2 separate regions of the Homo sapiens genome follow, and region 1 is linked to region 2. Evidence: promoter capture Hi-C in 16 types of primary human blood cells and fetal thymus (Javierre and others, 2016). All regions are on one chromosome and are shown on one strand. Each heading gives the region's core, a stretch centred on a gene start or on the middle of the fragment in contact. The rest is flanking DNA. Distances are from core to core; before and after follow the strand shown. Region 1 overlaps LINC00630 (long intergenic non-protein coding RNA 630). Region 2 holds the start of TCEAL7 (transcription elongation factor A like 7).

Region 1 (2,961 bases), core at 329-2,828, 370 kb after region 2:
CTCTGGAGCATGATGTACTGAACATAAATCCAAGCTGTCGCACTCCCTAACTGTGCAGTCTCAGGTAAAATTTTTATTCTATCTGCTCCTTAGTTTTCCATCTACAAAATGGAGATCAGCAACAGTTTCAACCTTGTAAGGGTGCCGTGAGAATTGAACGACTCAGTAGCTAAAAAGCACTTGGCACATAACATATTGTAGCCATATTTGTTTCTCTGTCTTTATTGGCCATTAGTATTTACTATCTCTGTGGTAAAGACTCATATTTACTCACAACCAATGACCTTTGAGGTATGGTTTTAGTGAGACAAGCAGGTTATAAAACTAAATGTAGAATGAGATCTTATATTTTGTAGATAAGTATATAAATGTATTCATTTCTGCATAAATTTATAAGTACCTGCATAAGAAAATTTGTGAAAGAATATTATACAGATATAAGCATTAGCAGGTATTCTCTTTGAAATACTCAAGATATTTTGAGAGCAGGTATTCTCTTTTGTTTTAGAGTAATGCTGTTTATTTCATTTCTTATGTATTTATAACTGTAATAAATATCAAATGCTCCTGCAATTATACAAAAACATTGTCAGGAACATTCAAGCATTCCTTACCCCACCCACAGGAAAGAGATACACATTTAGAATGAAGAATATCCCTGAAGCTCAAGAATAAAAGATACTGAGGGAGCCACTTCCAAGTATACGAGGATATATTTTCCCCTAATTCAAAACCAAAGCAATAATTATCAATATTTTATACACCATGACATTCTAGGATTTAAAACCTAGTAGTTTTACACGTTTGTAGTATTGTGCCTTCATGGATACACATTCAACAACTCCTCCCACTTTGAATTACCCACTGGTGCAGATGAAATTCTGGTTCAGAGTCCTGTAGGTGGTAATGGTATGAGGGTCAAGGGCATGTGACTTCTCTCTCCTCTTTATCTGCACTCTTTCTTTATTTGACACTCCATAGGAAACTATTTTTCCAATATCAGTATAGAAGCTCAAATAATGGGGCAAAAATGACACAGAATTAAAGAAATGGTTTGATGATCTTTTCCCTCTTCCCACATTCCTTGGCAAAGCCATCCTGCATCACAGAAATAGCCCCAAAGCTTCATTTATAAACTAAATGTAAGTATATGCTACTTCTTCCTGCTCCATTACCAGCTGGTCTCTGTGGTAGTTATGCTGTTTGGTTTAGATGACAGTCATCACTTCTCTGGGAAGGAGAAGAAAAGTGGGCCAGGATGAATATTTGTTGAAGACTAGGTGCCATCTTCTCTGTATAGGATTTCTCTAGGTGCCATCTTCTCTGTATAGGATTTCTCATTTACCCCACAGGACAGTTCTGTAAGTAACACATCATGAGCTCTCAGTGGTTCCCTTTTCCGGATGACCATGGGCAAGCTGACAGAGGTTAAGGAAGTTTTCCAGTGTCACACATCAAGTAAAAGGCAGGAATGAGGTTCCAGCTTTTGTCCTCTTTAAAATGTTCCATGCATTTTCAACAGAGGATATATTGCCCCCAAGGGGCTGAGAATTGGTTTTTAAGGGTAGGGAGATAGTAGACATTAAAATGGTTTGTGGCACTACATAGGACCAAAATACATAAACAGTTAACACTATATCTGTGGTATTAAAATTTCACATTTCAGGCAAGAAGGGACTAATAAGGAGGAAAAACATGTCTAATAAGGCTCCTTTGGATAACGAAAGAAGATTGGGAAACATTTAATGTGCCCAGTGATATCTTCTGTAGATAATGGGCCACCAAGGCTTAGGGGCTGGTCATTTCACACCACCCCATGGATGCCTACTCAATAACCCCTTTAGATGATGATGCTGATGATGATAATGGGCATTTAATTATAAGTTACTTGAGTAGTATTTTCATTAATCTTAACCTTTACTCAAGTAATTTATAATTAAATGTCCATTTTATATCAGGTTATAGAAAGTTAGGAGAAGTTAAATAAATCAGGGAAACTTTGTTGTTAATGTCTGAAATTTCACTAAAGCTTCTGCTACAGATCTTCACAACCCTGTGCTCAGAAGATCCCCTTGACTCCCTGAGCAGAGCCTGCAGACTGACATGGAGAGCTACATGGAGTCTAGGCAGAGCCACTGCTCAGGCACACATGGAGCTCCAGGGCCCTTGGACTGCTGGGCACCCCAGCACCAGTGGCTGTAGCTCTGGCAACAAGAGAGGCCAGGCTCCCTGGAATGCCTCCAGTATAGGGGCTAAATCCACGGGGCTGAGGAGCAGATGGACTGCAGGCCTCACCTCCATTGCACCTTGCTGGATAATGCCCACTTGGCTGGGTCCCTAGCATGGCCACTCCAGCCTCACTTGAGCTCTAGAGCCAATAGCAGCCCTGTATTTCCCTGGAATGGAGCTCTCAGTGGTAGCAGACGGGTCCCCCAGTCTTGGCAGGGTGATTAAGGACTAATGCAGGCCCCCAGCACAGCACAGCTGCCTTACAGAAAAGTGGCCAGACTTTTTTCCACATAGATCTCTGTCCCCACTACTTCTTACTGGGCAGGGCCTCCAGACTTGGGACTCCAGCCACCCCACCCATGTCTGGGCTCTTGGGCCAGTAGCAGATCCCCCTGGGGGATCTGTACTTCCCTGGGACAGAGCTCTCAATTGTAGCAGGCAGGTCTGCCATTTTTGCTGCTCTGCAGCTCCTGCTCCTGTTTCCCTCAGGCTCAGGAGGGAGCCAAAAGACTTAGGACTAATGCAATCCTCCAGCACAGTGCAGCTGCTTTTTAGATAAGAAGGCAGACTCTCTTCCACATGGGCCCTGGCCCTGTTACTCCTCAGTGGGCAGGGTCTCTCTACCCAGGCCCCCAGAACAACCACCTTGTCCCCGCCCAAACATTTAAGTCAGTGGCAGCTCTGTCATTCTCTAGGGAGGAAATCACAGAGACAACCCACAGCCCCTCTCAT
Region 2 (2,906 bases), core at 172-2,671:
GAGCCCTAAATTTCTTTCTCAGACCCCTTATCTCTTCCAAACACCTTTCCATCTCATCTCCCTCCCTTGTCATTTCTTCATCTTTAAAATGCCTATAGTCTATGTCCTCTTTAAATTCTTCGAGAGACTGAAGCAGCCTCTGTCTAAAATTCCCTTCTGTTTGCTGGCGTTCAAATTCTCCATACGGGCGTTTTTCCTCCCTCTTTGGCACGCTGCACTTTGGCTTTCCTTCGTTTTCTTTGCAGGGTTTTTGCATGATGTTGTTGTTGTTTCCTGCTTAACTCTAGGGAGAAAATGTAAAGACAAATTGCTTCATTACTTTTGAATCACGATTGTCAGTTTCTCTCTGAGGCAAGATACTTTCCCATCTCTGCCCCACAGGTCCAGACCTCATAAGTCTGCGGCAGTTCCCTCCACCCTCTCATCTCCCCCTTTTCTCCCCTCCCACCTCAGGAACCCACCGTTTCCCCAGCAGACAAAGCTAATGGCCTCTCCAATAGGCAGGAGAGGCGGAGCAGAAAAGGAGATGGACTGCGAAGCCGCAAATTTCGCCTAGCTTTTGCCCCTTCCCGACTCCTATCCTCAGAGATCTCAGTCTAAGTGCCTCTCTCATACTGACCTGTGCGGGGTAGTTTCCTGCTCCTTTTCTTCCCCCAGATGTCTGTGAACACAGATCCTGGGACCTCCAAACAAAAAGGAAGGGGCGGGGAGGAAGGAGCTATCTGTGGATCAACCAGCTCCAGAGACAAGACAGACGTTATTATTTTGAACCTGGGATTCTCATCATCACCGTCATCGCCCCCCGGATTTCTACCTCCTGGCCCCTCCTTCCTGTCTGTATCCTTTCCTTCAGGATTTCCGTTTCCACTCCCCACTCCTCACCCTCAGGCCTGGGCCTTGCAAGGCCCGCGTCTCCCTCCTTCGCCCCGTCCCGCGCCCCACCCCACCACCACAGGCCGGCATTGAGTGAGGTGAACTATTTTCAAATGATCTCTAAATTTCTGTTGTCTCCATCCCGGGATTTCAGCCTTTCTCCACACACCAACACATACCCCAGGCCTAAAATTTTCTCTTAACAAAATTGGAGAAAGATGAGGAGAAGGATAAAAAGAAAGCATGCCAGGGTGAGAGAAGCCGATTATTTCAAAGCTGTCACTAAATCTCTAGGTGTCTCTCAAAAGATTTCGACCTACCCCCTTGCTTCCCCCTGCAAAAGATACAATTATCTCCGACGATTTTGCAGCGGTTTTGGGAAAGCAAGTCTGGACCTATTCCAGTCATTAGATTCACCCACTACTGACCCCGGGGGTCCAGTGGTTCCTTCACTCCAACCTGCTGGGATTTAAGGAATTTACCTCTTCCTTCCCTTGGCCACAAGCACGCACGGCACGCTTGTCTGCAGGGCAGTAAGGAGCTGGTACCCAGAGGAGAAAGAAGCCCGGGAATATAAGGACTTCGGTTCACGTCAGCTCCTGATCACGTGAGGATTATGTCATCCCCCATCTCTGGTCCCCACTTTCCCCTCCCACCAGCAGCGCTGCAGAAGTGGACCGGCTTACCAACCTCCCACCCCACACCACACCAGGCCCTGTCACTCATTTTTGTCTTTGCTAATTCCAGAGGTCAAAAGTGGCGCCTTCTCCCTGTGGTCAGAATTTGCCTTTCTCTGATTACCAGGGAGGGGCTGCATTTTCCCAAAGTTATATTAACCATTGTTACTTTTTTTGTGGTTGTGCTGAGAGGGAGGATTACTTATCCTTTTCTAAGCTACAAGAAAAGAAAAGTGGCAGTCTCCTCCATCCAATCGCCTCTCAGCCACTAATAGCCATCATTTCCCTTGGAGTCCAATCCTTGAAACCAGATTGGAGGGAATGGGGTGAATTAGGAAAGGAGGTAATGATTTGGATTGTGCTTCTTACTTTTGTTTTGATAATTTCTTATTCTTTTCCAATTTTTCCATAAACTTATTATATACTTTTAATAATCAGAAATATGATAAAGATATGTACATTTGGAAAAAGATTCCAGATAGGAGGATAAAAAGGCCAGCCACCTGTTTCTGCTGCTGAAGTCATAATATAAATATAGACCCTTTAGGCAGACATATTTTTTGAAGTTTAAGATGTACAGGTCAGTTGGAACCTACTCTTTTGAGGGGCTCCCGGGCATGTGAGGTCCTTCCATTAGGTGAGTCACTGAGACCATAATCCTACAGCACCTTGCCCTTAGATTTCCAGATCGCAACTGTAAGTCACAAATTTTAACTAGTTTGAGCTCAGTATCATGCCCTCTTTCTTCCAGTTTATACCATACACATAACCCTTTTTTCTTCAATACTGTACCCCTAATATCCCAACTTTTTTCAACACTCTCATTCAGAAAAGAATAGTTTTTCATTTTCCCTAGACATCTCCATCCTATTTATGTTTTCCATGACCTTATTTAGCCATACTGATGTATTGAAAGCTACTTGTAGTACTAACAAAAATTAGTCACATTTAGCCACCCAACACACTAAACTTTTTGTTGCTAAGGATTTGGGTACTTGTCTAAGTAGATTTGCTCTTGATTTGTTAGCTTGAAATATATGCAATAGAAAGGGAGATGTGTAAACTTCTCATAAGTTGTTTTTAGGAAGATTGCAGCTCATTATGAATATAAAGTTACCACTAATCAGTTTGATATAAATGACTCCAGAAAAAAGTTCAGTGGTCAGAAAAAAGTCTTAAAAACAGTAGAGCATCATTGTCACAGTTATTAAGGAATGACTAGTTGTGATAGAGGCAAAAAATTCGTTTGTGGGGAGAAAAATTCCTGAATCCTCTGTGAACAGCTTTTCATGCAGATGGTTAGACTCAGAGTTATAAAATGGCTGAAGGATTCGGGTGTTGAAGACTTTGCATATT

What was found. Contacts are between HindIII fragments. The CHiCAGO score rates a contact against its expected background, and 5 or more counts as called.
Region 1: a contact is called between a fragment that was not itself captured here and the fragment with the promoter of TCEAL7 in region 2, in 1 of 17 cell types (erythroblasts). The highest score is 5.0, in erythroblasts.

What each region holds. Positions count from the first base shown.
Region 1 is chrX:102,960,004-102,962,964 of GRCh38, reverse strand. It overlaps LINC00630 (long intergenic non-protein coding RNA 630), which reads right to left. Exons shown (of 12, transcript NR_146589.1): 12 at 1-1,359. Among named protein-coding and RNA genes, the nearest start is that of RAB40AL, 24 kb to the right of the region's middle. The HindIII fragment of the contact is 906 bases long and covers 1,126-2,031 here.
Region 2 is chrX:103,328,754-103,331,659 of GRCh38, reverse strand. It overlaps TCEAL7 (transcription elongation factor A like 7), which reads right to left and starts at 1,421. Exons shown (of 3, transcript NM_152278.5): 1 at 1,356-1,421; 2 at 620-737; 3 at 1-283. The coding sequence starts at 256. RefSeq lists an enhancer at 406-905. The HindIII fragment of the contact is 8,380 bases long and covers 1-2,906 here.